Linked DNA regions of Homo sapiens: all the other regions are linked to region 3. The links are contacts of gene promoters, found by promoter capture Hi-C in human tissues and cell types (Jung and others, 2019). All regions are on one chromosome and are shown on one strand. The core of a region is centred on a gene start or on the middle of the fragment in contact, and the rest is flanking DNA. Distances in the headings are between cores, read along the strand shown. Region 1 has its middle 61 kb from the start of EXOC6. Region 2 has its middle 31 kb from the start of EXOC6. Region 3 holds the start of IDE (insulin degrading enzyme).

Evidence for each region. Contacts are between HindIII fragments. The study calls those that stand out against the background at their distance.
Region 1: a contact is called between a fragment that was not itself captured here and the fragment with the promoter of IDE in region 3, in 2 of the 25 tissues and cell types used here (mesenchymal stem cells and spleen).
Region 2: a fragment that was not itself captured here is called in contact with the fragment with the promoter of IDE in region 3 in 1 of the 25 tissues and cell types used here (spleen).

What each region holds. Positions count from the first base shown.
Region 1 is chr10:92,786,429-92,789,259 of GRCh38, forward strand. No RefSeq gene overlaps it. Among named protein-coding and RNA genes, the nearest start is that of EXOC6, 61 kb to the right of the region's middle. The HindIII fragment of the contact is 4,952 bases long and covers 1-2,831 here.
Region 2 is chr10:92,816,327-92,819,091 of GRCh38, forward strand. No RefSeq gene overlaps it. Among named protein-coding and RNA genes, the nearest start is that of EXOC6, 31 kb to the right of the region's middle. The HindIII fragment of the contact is 4,911 bases long and covers 1-2,765 here.
Region 3 is chr10:92,572,464-92,575,343 of GRCh38, forward strand. IDE (insulin degrading enzyme) reads right to left here and starts at 1,630. Exons shown (of 25, transcript NM_004969.4): 1 at 1,459-1,630. The coding sequence starts at 1,556. RefSeq lists a silencer at 1,030-1,479 and enhancers at 1,980-2,039, 2,050-2,289. The HindIII fragment of the contact is 24,485 bases long and covers 1-2,880 here.

The sequences.
Region 1 (2,831 bases), core at 195-2,694, 210 kb after region 3:
AAGGATCTGAGGCTCAGAGAGGTGTATTTTTCTGCTAGGGCTGCCGTAAGAAATGATACAAACTGGGTGCCTTTAACAACAGGAATTTATTTTTCTCACAGTTCTGGAGGCTGGAGGTCCAAGATTAAGGCGCCTCCAGGGTTGGCTTCTGATGAGGCCTCTTTTCCTGGCTTGCGGACAGCTGCCTTCTGGCTGTGTCCTCAAATGGCTTTTCATCTGTGCCAGGATGGAGAGAGACAGTTCTCTGATGTTTCTTCTTCTTTTTATAAGGACTTCAATCCTATTGGATTAGGGCCCCACCCCTTCAGCCTCATGTACCTTAATCACCTCCTTAAAGGCCCAATCTCCAAATACAGTCACATTGGGAGTTAAGGCTTCAATCTATGAATTTCAGGGAACACAATTCAGTCTATAACAAGAGGACTTTCTATCTATTGGGAGACTGAAAAACAACAACAACAACAACGACAACAGTAAGAGGGCATATAAAGTATCAGTGCAGTCCTGTCTTCCTGTTAATTCTCCAAAATAATTCCTAATGTCCCCAGTCAGCCTTTGAAAAATGCCTTCTTTCAGTGGCTAAGGCTGAGCCTTGCCATAGCCTACCCATCTCAGCAAACACAGATTATTCTTTCCTAGTGTGTGAAGGCTTCCACTGCTGCTATTAAAACAACTTAAAGCCAGGTACAGAGGCTCAAGCCTGTAATCCCAGCACTTTGGGAGGCTGAGTTGGGAGGATAGCTTGAGCCCAGGAGTTTGAGACCAGCTTGGGGAACACAGGAAGCCTTGTCTCTACAAAAAAATTTAAAATTAGCCAGGCCTGGTGGCGTGCACCTATGGTCCTAGCTACTAGGGAGGCTGAGGTGGGAGGATCGCTTAAGCCCAGGAGTTTGAGACCAGCCTGGGCAACATAGGGAGACCCTGTCTCTGCAAGTAATTTAAAAATTAGCCAGGCGTGGTGGCATGCACTTGTGGTCCTAGCTACTCGGGAGGCTGAGGTGGGAGGATTGCTTGAGTCTGGGAGATAGAGGCTGCAGTGAGCCATGACTGCACCACTGCACTCCAACCTGGGCGACAGAGTGAGGCTGTCTCAAAAACAAACAAACAAACAAAAACTTAAAAAAATGTTTTGTGTGCCTGCGTGTGCAGCAGTTAGAATGACAGCTGAGGTAAAACACGTATTACAAGCTTCTTCCTTGCTGTTGTTCTCTCATCTGCTTCCCCTTCCCGTTGCAGCAAGGAACCTGTCACCTGCACTGCCTGGTTTTGGTAGACAATGCCCAGGTGGCGGCGTCTTCCCTCTGACCTCACCACACCTGTGCCTCCGTGCTGCTGAAGCCCTCTCTGGGATAGGTTGGGACATTTGCTCCTGTCGCTTTCACACGTCTTTTAGTAACTCTTTTCTCTTTTCTTGTTTCAGCACATGAGAAACTTTCTCCTGCTCATCTGCTTTTGTTAACTAAATGCAGGAGCAGGCAGAGCTGTCTTTACTGCAGGAAGCCACACACACCTGCAGACCCGCCTCTGCCATCTGGTCCTTGCTTCTCCAGGTGTGGTCGGCATCCCTGGGAAGCTTGTTTACACAAGCTTCTGGGGTCTCACTTTCGGGGATTTTGATTCATAGGAATAAGGTGGACTTAGAAATCTGTGTTTTAATAAGCACCCCCAACCCTTCCTCAGAGATCTTACTATAAAGCTCAAGAACCATTCATTGGTCCAGGTTCATCTGGTCTAGGAGAGTATGAAAGGGAAGCGTAATGAAAGCACATGTTCACTCATGGCTGCCCTTGACTTCCTTTGGAATTCTCACTCCTTTTGGCCCCAGTTCCATGGGTCTTTGTACAACTGGCTGCTACCACCATGCCTGGCTCTGGGGCTCTTCCATTCCCTTGGCTTGGCTGTGGACAAATACATACTCTCTTTGGCCTGGTGCAGCTGTGGATGCCTGCCAATTGTTTTCTAGTCGTTGCTCTGCTGCTAAGAATTAGTTCACACCAAGTTTTGATCCCACTGATTGAGAAGAAGCCCAATCAGGGCTCCTGATTATGGTGGCTAAGAGCATGGTAGTTACGGTCTTGGCCATGGAAGTTGGAGGGACCTGAGTTTAAATCTCAGCCCCACTCAGTAACATGGCTGTGTGGTTTAAGTCAGACACAGGATCTTTTTGGGCCTCTACTTTCAGATCTGCAAAATAGGATGAAGATATTTTCTGTACCTATGTCAAAGAGTTGATGAGTGGGAAGAATGAAAACATATTCTAAAGGTAAGATTGTGACATGACTGTTGTGCTATAGAGAAAAATATTCAAATTGGTTGCCATGATCCCTTAGAAATTAAAAGACTCCAACATTCTTTTATGTTGAGAGAAATCCCCCAGTATTCTGGAAGTAGTGGGGAGGATGGAGAAATTTTCCTTTATGGGAAACTTAGAAAAAAAAAAGTTGAAATCAATGAAAGCTGACCACCTACCATGAAACTAAGATCAAAGCTGTTCTCTTTCAAATGCAAGAGGAGAAGTTAGCTGGTTGTGTTTGTCTTTCTTCATGTGGGGTGTCTTCTCAGGGCTTGCCACTTGCGGAGTGTGAGCCTAGACAGTGGTCAAGGCAAACCCATATCCTCCCTTGTAAAATGGGAAGGACAATTGCAGGGTCCATCTCAAATTTTATTTGTTAGTTGATAGACACCCATTGTCAGGAAGAAAACTGCTCTCGAAGAGCTGGAGGCCTTCACACCTGCCAGCTGAAGCGTTTGAGGCTGTACCGGCTGCTTCTGAGAAGGCCCTAGTTGTCACACTTGAGCAACTGAGCATCTGGGTGGCTGGAAACCCAAGA
Region 2 (2,765 bases), core at 211-2,710, 240 kb after region 3:
TATTGAACCATAACCCTGTAAAATGTGGTATAAATGGAAACTTTTCTTTTTATCATAGTGTGTTTGAAATGAAGGAATTCACATTAGTCATTCTCTCAGTTTCTACTCTACAATAGCTGTCCTTGTAAGGGGCCAGATTGTGTCAGGCCTTATAAACCAAATTAACTCCAAAAATTTTGTAAGATAAACTATTTACAACATCAAAATTTCTGAGTGGTGACCAATCCAGAAAAGTGACAGTAGGCAATGGGAAATTTGAAGACAAAGAATGGGTGGAGGAAGAAATAAATCACCACTCAAGCATACTGGTTCCATTTTACTACCTTATGAGTTATTGACTACTTTATTAATTATTTACTACATTGATTAATTATTCCAGCAAACATTTATTGAAAACTTTTCTGTAGGAGGTCCTGTACTAAGTGCTCTGAGAACTACAGAAGTGAATAACACCCAAAAGTGGTCTTCAAAGAATTCAGTTTAATATTGGAAATAAAGCATATATGTCCTATCCAAATTATGTCCTATGAGATGTACCATTCAGGACCTAGAGTGGTTTTGAAGAGGGGGCTGTCTGTGTTGAATCTTGAAGAACATATAGAAATCTGTTTACCAGGTAGACAGACGGAAGTGCATTCCAGATGAAAGGAACAGCATCTACAAATGCCCAGAGGTACCCAGGTCAGAGCTAATGAAGAAGAGCTAGGTAGAGATTGACCTGGAGAGAAAGAGCAGGTTGGGAATACCTGTGTGGGGATATTATCATTATTAGTAGGTGGGTGTTTGATGCATGGAAATTGACTTACAGTGGGAGGAGAGGGAAGTTAATGAGTTCAATTTTGGACATGATGATGGGATAGGATATTCTGGTGGAGATGTAATGTAGGTGTTAAAAATGAAGTTTGGCGCTTAGGGGAGAAGTGCAGTTGGAGATCTAGATTTGAGACTCATCAACACACAAGTGGAAGATGAACACACAGGACCCTAAAGTAAGAGGAAGGGAGAGTTGAGGACAGAATCATGGGAAACAACTACATTTAGAAGACAAACAGATGAAAAGGAACTTGGAAAGGAGGCTGAGAATGAGAAGCCGGGGGATATGAATAAAGACCACAAGAAAATAGCAGCTTCCCCCTTTATCCATGGTACAGTCCTTCTTTAGTGATGATTGGGGAATGTTGAAGCAGAATAGGAAACACTAAAGGAGTGTTTAATCCAGTCCTTTTTATTTGCATTACTTTCCTAGGAGTCAAGGCTCATTTTTCTTCGCCCCATGAATAAGCTCCAGGAGCCTGGGCAGACCAAATAGGCGGTTATTCCTGGGTTGCATGCCGGATGGAAAGTTCTAGGAGTCAGGTCAAAAGGGATGGTCCTGGATTGTGAAGCACCAATGAGCCAGGGAGGCCTATCACATAGTGGTTCTGAGCTCTAGAGTTAGGCAGATCTGTGTTCAGATCCTGACTCTAAGGTCCAGAGATGGATTCTTGCAGTAGGTGTGCAAGCCACCCTGGGTATAGGGTGCACATTCTCAGTCCAAGACCTCACGCCCCCGACAAGTTAATTTGGAATAAAAAAGAAATTTCTCCACTGACCTGTTGGCTTCTCAAAGGCTTGGCACATGGAAGGTCCTTAAATCTATAGTCTTTGTAAAATGATGAATGAGCACATAACAAACTTAAGAACAGTACATTGGAAATAACTTTATAATAAACAGGTGAACATTGTGGTCACCTAGCATTTTCATGGGCAACTTATCTTTTGGAAACTGATCATTGAACATCAGAGAAATATCCACATGTGTCCATTTGAAAAGATGTAGAGGAACAATCCTTTTCACCAGACCAAAAAATAGAAATCAGTTAATTAAAATAATTATCTTCAGTGGTACATAATAACTTTCCTCATTATGGCATAATACTAACGCTTCTATAGGGTTAATTACTTTCCTGGCACTATTCTGAAGACCTTATTTTCATTACTTAATTTAATCTCCCAACAAACTTATGAGACAGGAGCTTGTCTATTACGTAGAGAAGAAAACTCCGGGTATAGAAAAGTACCCAAGGCCACATCACTAATAAATAGCAGAGGTAGGATTTGAACCCAAGCAGTCTGACTCTAGAGTCTTTGAATATAACTGCTACACTACACAGAAGCCTCCCTTGATTCTGAGACCTGACCACATAGCTGGACCCATTTTGTTCATCACCTGGTATGGAAGGAAAGCTACATTGTGATGTGAAATGAGGCTTTCTCATCACGGCTTCTATGGGGGCAGGTGGGGTTGGGGCAGGTTATGGGTAATGTATTTGTGTTAAATTAGACAAGAAGCATGATAATCATTTATATGAACAGAAGTCATAATCACATGATGTTCTGATTTGACAATTTACCTCTCCCAGTCTCATAGGCAGGTGGCTTCAGCCCCTTGTCACAAGTTCTCATTCATAAACTAAAAGAGAGGCTCAGCACCTCTGGACAGGGCCAAAAAGCATGTACATTTTAGAAGTCTCCAGGGAGCATACTGACCCTGTCTGTCCTCGATGGCCCTGCTAGAGTGTTTTCTGAAGGGCCCTTGTATCTTCTAGTTGGTCTCCAGGGGCCCACACTGATTGTCCCTTATCTGAGAAGTAACTGAGAGAAATCTCAAAAGGAGTTGGGGAGAAGAGGCTCCAAGGCATAAAGTGGAAACATAGCCCCAGTCTTGAAGAGAATTTGAATCCAAAATGATTACAGGCATAACTTGGAGACATTGCAGGTTTGCT
Region 3 (2,880 bases), core at 380-2,879:
ATACAGGCAGTAAAGACTAAGTCCCAACAGGTTTCTCTGCCTTAGGACTCTCTCCACTTCCTGACATCCTGCACACAGCCACCAAACTACTTTCCTAAACCCCCAGTTCCATCAGATAACTTTCCAGCTCAAAAACTTTAATGGCTCCCTACCTACTACGCATTGGGAAAATCCCAACTAAAATTCAAGACCCAGGCCAGCATTACCCTACTGTTATAATACAGGACTTGTGTCCTTCTAATTACCCCAAGGAAATTCTATAAAGCTTCAACCAGACTAATCGGCTCACTGCTCCCCCAACACAAACTGCCCGCATATCTAGGCTGGATTACGCCCACGCCAGCCCTCACTCCAACCTTTCTGCCATTCCTTCCAAAGCCAGCCTACCCCCCCATCTCTGGCCCCACACACTACCCATACTACCCATCTTCTGACCCTCATCAACACACCCTTGTAGCTATCTCAATTCCCGTGGCATCCCAATCCGCTCCAATCAAGTCAAAGTTCCTTGGAAGGCAGACACATACTTTACATAGAGGGTCCAGCACAGTGCCCTGCACTTAGTAGGTGCTGGCTATTACTGATTAAAACCAGCAGGGGTTCAAATAACGTTTCTAGGGAGGGCAAGATAATACTGCCTATCTTCTTCCATTCGTAGTAAAAAGTATTCAGCGTTCACTACAAGCCTGAAAACGCCTAGCGTACGCAGATCAACGGTGCAGTGGAGAGGGCACGCCGCCGGATGGCAAAAAACCTGTGTCCTAATCCTGGTTTTGCCACAATCTCGGCAGTTGCTGGGAAATCAAGCCATCTCTCGGAGCTCCGGTTGTCTCCGACGTAAAACAAGGGAGCTGCTGTAGAGGATCCCGAGGTATCTTTTGGCTCCTAAATGTCCCCCGATAGGAAACCCCACACTCGTCTTCCAAGGCGGGAGGCAGGCAAACTTTTTTCCCAGCGCGGGCATTCCACACGGTCCTGGAAACTCAGTGCCCGGAGAAAAGGGCAGGGCTGAGGGCAAGGTGAGAAGCGGTCCCCCCGAAGTCGCCGGATTCCTTTACCCCACGGCTCGAGTCCGCCTCAGGTTCCCGGCCCCCTCACAGGCGGACTCCGGGAGAGTGACGCGGCGCGGCTCCCAGGTGCAGGCCGGGTGACTCTGTCCGCCCCTGCGCCCCCCGCACTAGTGGCACACGCCCCGTGGCCCCGGGTAGCGGCCCCGGCCCCTCACCAGCCCAAGGGACGTCCCCGACTCTGGACCAGGCCTCTGGCTCCCGCCTGGCGAGCCGCTCTTCCGGGCCCTGGGGCGGCCTCAGCGCGGCAGTACGGGCCCCAGGCCGGCGGGACGGGCGGCGTGAGGGGCAGCGGTGGCGGCTTTAAGTGCTGAATCACCACTTTGCAACCCGAGCGCCAAACCGCTGTGACCCACGGGGCCCGAGGGCCCGGGCGCTCCATTCCGCTTACCCACACAGGCGCTCCGGAGGCGGCAGGCGGGCGCCGAGGACTGAGCGGAAGGTGCTGGGCAGTGCGGGGTGCAGAAGCCACGCTAGCCGGTACCGCATTAGCCAGCGCAGTCGCCGGGATCACCGCAAACGCTTCCTGCTTGCGCTTCGAGCCGGCCCTGCGCACTGCGCATGCTCTAGCCGCGGCGCCGCGCGGTCTCCCGGGAGCTGCGGAGAGGTAGCTGCTCCGGGTTTTGCCTGGAGCCGGATGGGGCCAGGACGCAGGCGAGGACGGTGAAGACCGCGGACAGCCGAGGCCTGAGCAGGCGGACTGGAGGGACAGGGGTTTGGCCGGGGCGCTTTAGGAGCCAGCACCCAGACTTTCCCAGGCGGGGAGGGTCCCAGCTAGATCCCACCGGCCGCACTTGTGAGGGTGGCGACGTGTGTCTGACTGTGAGGGGGCGAGGGGCCGCTCATAAATCCAGTGAGGGCACACGGGGCTATGTTTTCTGAGGCACCCCCACTGACTAGCGTGCCGGACCCTGCAGGTGTTGGAACAAGGTTCGTGGTCGCGGCGGCCTCACGTAAAATGAATCCGCGGCCGGCGCGCGGCCCGCGGGCTCCCTCTAGAGCGCGGTGGGGACGTGGACCGCGAAGGCACAGATGCGCTGGAGACAAGGCTCGAGTGCGGCGTGGGGGAAATTCAGACGCAGGGGTCAGCGATAGAGAGGCCAGGACCCAGGGGGACGTTTCCATCCTTGGGGAAGTTAGCAGCTCTCTTAAGAGGAAGGTGCGGATGGGACGGGCGCCGCAGCAAAACAAGGCTTCAAATCCAGAGTAGAAACTACTACTCTTGTTAGTACTCCGTACTAGGAATACTACTAATGTCAGTCGGCTTCAGTGGTTACTTTTTAAACAAAGAATTTTCTCCCCAGTGGCTTTATGGGGCTTTGCACCCACGAACAACTTAATAGTTGTTATGAATCTAACTTTCCATAATACCTTATGGGAGTCTTTAAGGAAGAATGCTATTAGGGATGGTGACTTGCCAGCTTAAGTACTTTTAGGTTTCTGATTGACAGACGATCAAGACTGCAGCCAAAAACGGTGTCCTTAGTCCAAGTATTGCTTTAAATGGGAATTCAGTAGGAGGGTTCCTTAATCAAGTTGATGCTTTATCGAAGACGTACCCACGATCTTTTTAACAGTGCGGTTTCACCTAAAGGCAAACCTTTGGATGAAAACAGGTAAAAATTATGGCAAGCCTCCTAGTGGTGTTTGCAAGTGCATGGTTTTAAGAACCTTTAAATTACCAGTCCCAATGCAGAGTAGTCAATCACCTTGAAGCAGCTCCTCTGAGAGTGTTAATGCAGCCTTTCTGAATACATTTATGCTCCATTAATGGAATCTATAAATGGGCTGGGGTAGATTCAGACTTGGAGGG